Regions from separate parts of the Homo sapiens genome. Here region 1 is linked to region 2. The links are contacts of gene promoters, found by promoter capture Hi-C in blood cells and fetal thymus (Javierre and others, 2016). All regions are on one chromosome and are shown on one strand. Each heading gives the region's core, a stretch centred on a gene start or on the middle of the fragment in contact. The rest is flanking DNA. Distances are from core to core; before and after follow the strand shown. Region 1 overlaps POLA1 (DNA polymerase alpha 1, catalytic subunit). Region 2 holds the start of POLA1 (DNA polymerase alpha 1, catalytic subunit).

Region 1 (3,177 bases), core at 279-2,778, 230 kb after region 2:
TGCATCTTCTGGGTTGTATGAGGGTGATAACTTGAGATTAAGATTTTGCTGTGGATAATCTCTAAGGTCATGAGCCCAACTCTTCATACCTCAAGGAATTTAATTCAGGGACAAGTTGTGTTATGAGATGACTTTAGCTAATTTCTGCTGTCCCTACAAATGAGAGAGAAAAGACTGGTTATGTTCCCATGCAAATATCTTAGAAATATAAAGTAAAAGACTGTCTTGTCAAACCAGTTCAAAAGAAAGTCAGATGAAATCGATACCTCAGAAAACAGTTTGGCAGTACCTACTAAAGCTGAACATTTGCATGCCCTATGACTCAGCATTTCCCCTCCTCCAAACTGTAATCAACAGAAAATGATACATATTAATATGTGCTTCAAAGACATGTACAGGAATATTCACAGTAGCATCATTCCGTTTGTTTGTTTGTTTGTTTGTTTGTTTTGAGATGGAGTCTTGCTCTGTTGCCCAGGCTGGAGTGCAGTGGCATGAGTGAGCTCAGCTCACTACAACGTCCACCTCCTGGGTTCAAGCGTTTCTGCTGCCTCCGGAGTAGCTGGGACTCACAACAATGAGAAGAAATGCGTGACTGCTACACAGGACAACATAGATGAATCTCACAAACACAATATTGAGAAAAAGAAGGCTGGGTGTGATGGCTGAGGAGTTCGAGACCAGCCTGAGCAATATAGCAAGACCTCATCTCTACTAAAAGTTTTTTTTTTTTTTTAGTTAGCTGGGTGTGGTGGCACGCGCCTGTGGTGCCAGCTACATGGGAGGCTTAGGTGGGAGGATTGCTTGAGCCCAGGAGTTCAAGGCTGCAATGAGCTATGATTGCGCCACTGCATTCCAGCATGGGCAACAGAGTGAGACCCTGTCTCACAATAAATAAAATAAAAATAGAAAGAAACCAAATAGAAAAGAACACAAACTGTACGACTGCATGCACATAAAGTTTAAAGGCAAATCTATTGTTAGCTTTAAGGGGAAGATGGGGAATAATTAGGGGAATAAGGGGGGCCTCTGGGATACTAAAAATGTTGTTTCTTGCTCTGCGTACTGATCACAGAGATGTGTTCATTTTGTGCATCAAGCCGTACACCTAGTATTTGTGTACTTCTTGTGTTTTTATTATAATTCAGTAAAAATTTAGGACCAAAAAAATGCAAGTCAGCTTTAACACTGCCCTGTATTTTATGTAACAGAAAATATATCCTATCCTAATCTTGAAATAACTTGCTTAAACAAGCAAGCATCTTCCTCAGAAATGATTCTCATGAAAACTTCTCAGCCTATTTTGGATAACATAAATTCCTTGATCTTGAGCCAGATTAGAAGGATCAGAGTCTATGGTTCTAAAAGTATCCCCGATACAGGTAGTGTGTAGCACAGCAGTTCTCATCTCAGACTGCCCACTAGAACTACCTGGCAGCCCTTTAAAATGCTCATATCCAGCACTCCACTCTATACTCTCATTTAGTTGTTCTGGGGCTGAGGTCTGATCATCAGTACTTTTTTTTTTTTTGAGATGGAGCCTCACTCTTTTGCCCAGGCTGGAGTGCCGTGGCGTGATCTCGGCTCACTGCAACCTCCACCTCCCAGGTTCAAGTGATTCTCCCACCTCAGCGTCCCAAGTAGCTGGGACTACAGCCATGCGCCACCACACCCAGCTAATTTTTGTATTTTTTTTTTTAGTAGAGACGGGGTTTCACCATATTGGCCAGGCTGGTCTCGAACTCCTGACCTCAAGTGATCTGCCCTCCTATGCCTCCCAAAGTGCTGGGATTACAGGTGTGAGCCACCACACCCAGCTATCAGTACTTTTTTTAAAGCTCTTGGGGTGACTGGTTTGCAGCCAGGTAAGGGACCACTGATATAGGACCTCATCAGAAATCTCAGGAGAGAGACTGGATAATATTGATAAATGGATTCAGGACTATGTTTTGGTCATAAAGTACTTTGACTTGGAGAAAGAATGAAGTTTGCGTTGTTTCTAATATAATCTGATTACAGGATTCAAAAAGAACACATAAAAAACGGTGGTATTAAAGCATTTTCCTTTTCCCTTCATTTCTTCAACAATATTTGCCAAGTCGTCCCCTGTGCCAGGTATCAAAACAGAGTTCTTTCCTTACCCCTGTGTGTATATGGACCTATGAGTGCACCCGTGGCCCACCCTTATTACTCTGGTAACACTCCAAGTAACTAACTTGAATGCAGAGCGTGATACATACAGTAGCTATTTCAGCTCAGTATTGTCCTTACCAAATCACAGTCGGCCACTTTGGTACATGATGTTCTAACTATAAAGGAAGACTGAAAGAAGCCTAGGCACTGTGTTGAGTGCAATTTTCAAGGAAAGAGCAAGAAATCGAACATTTTAAACCAATAAGTGAAAGCTGGAGAGAGAAAGAAATGTTAAAATATCATCTTATTTTCTTGAAGTATTTTCCATCCAATCTTGTACAGTCAAAATGAGCATTTAAGTGTGAGGAAAAAAACGCTGAAGATCTCAGATAAGACTAGAGAGTGTCAGGTTTCTTGATTAGAAGAATTTATCATCAAAGGCAAAAGAGAAAAGATGGTAAAGATTTTTTAAAAAACAAAAAATCTCCAAGGGATCACAAATTAGTGGTGCAAAATCAAGACAACAAAAGTAGGTGTTATTCTTGTTCATTTAAACTATAGTTTTCTCTGTTTCATGTGTGTTTTTTAAAACCACTTAATTGTATTTGACATTGAAAATGTAATAGGGCCTTTTGTTTTCAACCAGTTTACTAATTGCAAAATATGTCAGGAATCAAAAGGGCAGGAGGTGTTGGTATATTTTTTTAAAATATATAACTCCTTTTTAATTTTTTCCCCTATTTTCCTTATCCATTTAGGCAGTGACTTTCAATTAGCCTGCCTACTAATATCAGGTCACTAAACTCCGTGGCTGACGCTTTATTCCTTCATGTGGGTTGTCACTCGTTTGCTTCAGTTGGCTGGCAAAGGTTGTTGTATATCCATTACTAGCAACACAGCACTTTGCATTTCTGAATTGACAAGCAGCTATATTGACCCAGCGCTTATTATGGGTCAACAGCTGCGTTAACCAACGGAAGGACTGAGGGGCAATTAAAATGAATTGGCAAAAATATATCTTCCTAATTTACTCCAATTTGTTAT
Region 2 (3,525 bases), core at 35-2,534:
AAGAGGTTTGAAATGCCTAGAGTTATACCCGGGCATGTGGGAAGTAATCAGCTGTGAAATTGTTAAGGTAAGGATTTGGTTCTTATTAATGACTAGCCAACATGGTTCTCTCCTGGTTGGAAAAAGCTTGATAATAAAACTATAAAACTTCCATCAGTTTTTAAAAGGGAAGTGTAGGAATAAATCTGTCGTAGTACTTTAAATAGGAAGTTATGTCTAAGTGTAAATTACTACATGTTATGTATCACAACATATGGATCACATAACATGATATTAAATGATTATGAAGCTGAAAGACATTTTCTAAACAATCAGAAATTAAGAAACAAGTATTGATCAACCATGCTAGAAGACAGATTGAATTATCTTTATATCCTCTTTGGAGAAAATATTACAAAATTGTTGTCACATGAAGAAGGGATCAATAAGCATGTGGGCAATAATGTAGGAAAAAATACAAATGTGTGGCAGGCATTATTTAATAAAAATGTTATACCTTTTTGGAAAGAGATAACATGAGATGTACACATTACAGCCATTGTATCATACACAAAAATTGAATACCCTTTTTGTTTTTCATAACATTGAAATTTTGGAGTTCACGTCAGGTGTTTTGTAGATTGTCCTACATTTTGAATACATCTGATTGTTTCTTCATGGTTAGATTCAGGTTAGACATTTTTTGCAAGAAGACCATATAGGCGAAGTTTTTCCTTTTTCATACGCATTACATCAGGAGGCATATGAGATCAGATGGCCATTTATTGGTAATGCTACTTCTGGTTATTTGGTTAAGACGGAGCATATATCTTTAAGTTGTTAATCACACAGCCACTGTATCCAGACTGCTGAGAAGCAAACTATCAGGCAAAATTCAGGGCGCGCAGCAGGAGGCAGTCGCTTTCCCGGCTCTGGGGAAAACGATCCAACCACGCCCACTCTCCTGCCCGCCCGCGCCTCCTTTCCGGGAAAATGGGCTCTGAGAACCAGAGCGCCCTTTCTCCCACGCGCCCAAATCTTTTCCCATCAGCATGCGTGCGCTTGCGCAGTCTCCAGGCGGCTCCTTTCCAGCGCCCGACCGCTTCTTTCTCCTGCTCTCCTCCGGCTTCCCCTCAGCTCTAGCTTTTCCCTAAGGGGTCATCACAGGGCGCCAAACGCGCGTCCGCGGGAAGGCCGGGGGCGGAGCGCGGCGCGGCGCGGCACGTCAGTGGCCTTCCGGCCGGAAGTCCGCAGCCTCCCGAGCCGCTGATTGGCTTTCAGGCTGGCGCCTGTCTCGGCCCCCGCGCCAGTTTTGGGCTGGTTGGCGCGGAATCGGGAGATTCGGGACCATGGCACCTGTGCACGGCGACGACTGTGAGATAGGGGCGAGTGGTGAGGGACAATTCCGCGCGCGGGGCTCCGGGTTGGGACAGTGGCATGATTGCCGGTGGTGGGGGTTCTGAGGGAGGCGCACACCCGGGTTTGTTTGGGCGCAGACCTTGGTCGTCCCCGGCGGGGGCCCTTCTGGCGTCGGACCGGGCTTCCTTTAGGCGCGGTTTGCTCTTGGAGGACCAGAGCCTGGAGGGATTTTTGTTTGGGAGGCTGTCTCACCTCTGCCACTGAGAGTCTCCACAGTCGATTGCGTTTCTATTTCTTTTGGTGAGTTGCACCCACGTGCTGGGTATAACTTTATTGAGACTGGCCCCGTGGGGCCGAAAGTATTTCACTGCGATCTCCCTAAGTATCCACTTGAAGGCTTGAACAGAACAGATCTGTGTCCCTTTTTGTAGGAACTTCCAGGAAAATTTTATACATTGTAACTAAGCAGGAAAGAAAGCTCTAAGTGCTGTCATCGGGGAATAACGCGTTTTGTATTTTTAGGTAATGGGTTTCTACTTTATGCATTAACAATTTTTCTTTCAGATTCTTTGGAAAGTTCTTCAAGTGCTGCGTAGAAATCCTGTTCACAATCTAGTCATTCCTGGTGAAGTTTCAAAAAAATGGCATCAATTTAGGGCATTTCGGATCCCCTGTATATCACTCCGTTTGTCAGGGGTGTCTTTTATTTCCAAAAATAGAATACAAAAATGCAAATAGATTTGTCTGATTTTTTAAGTGTTCAACTAAAGCGTGACTTCAGTTAACTTCTAACTTAAAATCAGATGCTTCACTTTGTTAGCTCAAGCGTCACCTCTCCTGTCATTCAGATACATCACCATTAATGAGAACTCGCTTCCTAATCAGCTTCCTTTGCATTCACCTAGTTGTGAGTCACAGATTTCAATTTGTTCTAGCCGTTCGTTTTTTAAGACTATTTTGGAGAGTCGACCTGCCTGGATTACAGATAGGATGTTGGGTGTAAGTATGTGAACGAACAGTCTTTGCAGGCCTCTATCAGTGATTTGCCACTAAGCCCTTTCTTCATCCTAAAAACTACGTCATCTATGAACATCAGGAAATCACTTTGGAGGATACTGTGCAATCTTGAGACTCCTCTTAGGTCATGGTGTTCATTAAGTAGTTGCTGGGGACTTGTGACTGGAATTTTTCCTTTAGAGCAGACTGAAGGATTGTTACCTGAAAGACTGCTGTAAGCTAGTGTCTGTCTGCTTTTGGGGAGGATAGAGATACTCCAGATGGTAATTTTGAAACAAATATTTAAACCTTTGTAGCTGGATTTTTTTCATGCTTATTCTTTTTTTGCTAAGTTACCTACGTGAAGCATTGGAGACATACTCCAAAAAACAAAATGTAGGCTTTTTTTTTTCTTCAGTATTAGCAGGCAGGGCACCTTGATAATGGCAGTGAAAAGTTGAAAGGTCTGTAACTAGCTGTTACTATATATGAAAAAAGATCAGGGAATTTTTATTTATTTATTTATTTTTGAGACAAAGCTTCCCTCTTGTTGCCCAGACTGGAGTGCAGTGACGTGATCTCAGCTGGCTGCAACCTCTGCCTCCTGGGTTCAAGCAGTTCTGCCTCAGCCTCCCGAGTTGCTGGGATTACAGGTGCCCACCACCACACCGGCTAATTTTTTGTATTTTCAGTAGAGACAGGGTTTCACCATGTTGGCCAGGCTGGTCTTGAACTCCTGATGTCAGGTGATCCACCTGTCTCTTCCTCCCAAAGTGATGAGATTACAGGCATGAGCCACTGCGCCCGGCCAGGGAAAGTTTAATGATCAAAAAAGCAGGTACAGTGGTTCATTCATTGGTTCATTCAGCAAATATTTATTATATACCTACTAGGTATAAGCCTTCTGCCAGGCTCTGGCATTATGATGGTGGGTAGGCTGGACATGGTTTGTCTTCATGAAGTACAGATGGTAAACATCTAATCATATGCAGAAAACGGCTTTGCTTTGTTTTTGCCTTCTAAAGCTAGACCTTGGTACTCTTAGGTATGGTGTGTGTGGGGTATGTGGATGTGTGTTTGACTTCACACGCGGAAGCGTTACATGAGCCGCTCCTATATTGCTAAGTGCAAAGTAAGATAGGCATCTTCATGTAATCCTTAACAGATTTTGAAGCAGACATGATTATCCCC

What was found. The method cuts DNA at HindIII sites, captures the fragments that hold promoters and counts their contacts. A CHiCAGO score of 5 or more calls a contact.
Region 1: a fragment that was not itself captured here is called in contact with the fragment with the promoter of POLA1 in region 2 in 1 of 17 cell types (neutrophils); the score reaches 6.4 in neutrophils.

Annotation. Positions count from the first base shown.
Region 1 is chrX:24,925,319-24,928,495 of GRCh38, forward strand. The region is part of intron 35 of POLA1 (DNA polymerase alpha 1, catalytic subunit); the gene reads left to right. Among named protein-coding and RNA genes, the nearest start is that of ARX, 89 kb to the right of the region's middle. The HindIII fragment of the contact is 5,373 bases long and covers 1-3,177 here.
Region 2 is chrX:24,692,634-24,696,158 of GRCh38, forward strand. It overlaps POLA1 (DNA polymerase alpha 1, catalytic subunit), which reads left to right and starts at 1,285. Exons shown (of 37, transcript NM_001330360.2): 1 at 1,285-1,371. The coding sequence starts at 1,329. RefSeq lists a silencer at 1,107-1,266 and an enhancer at 1,457-1,546. The HindIII fragment of the contact is 2,747 bases long and covers 125-2,871 here.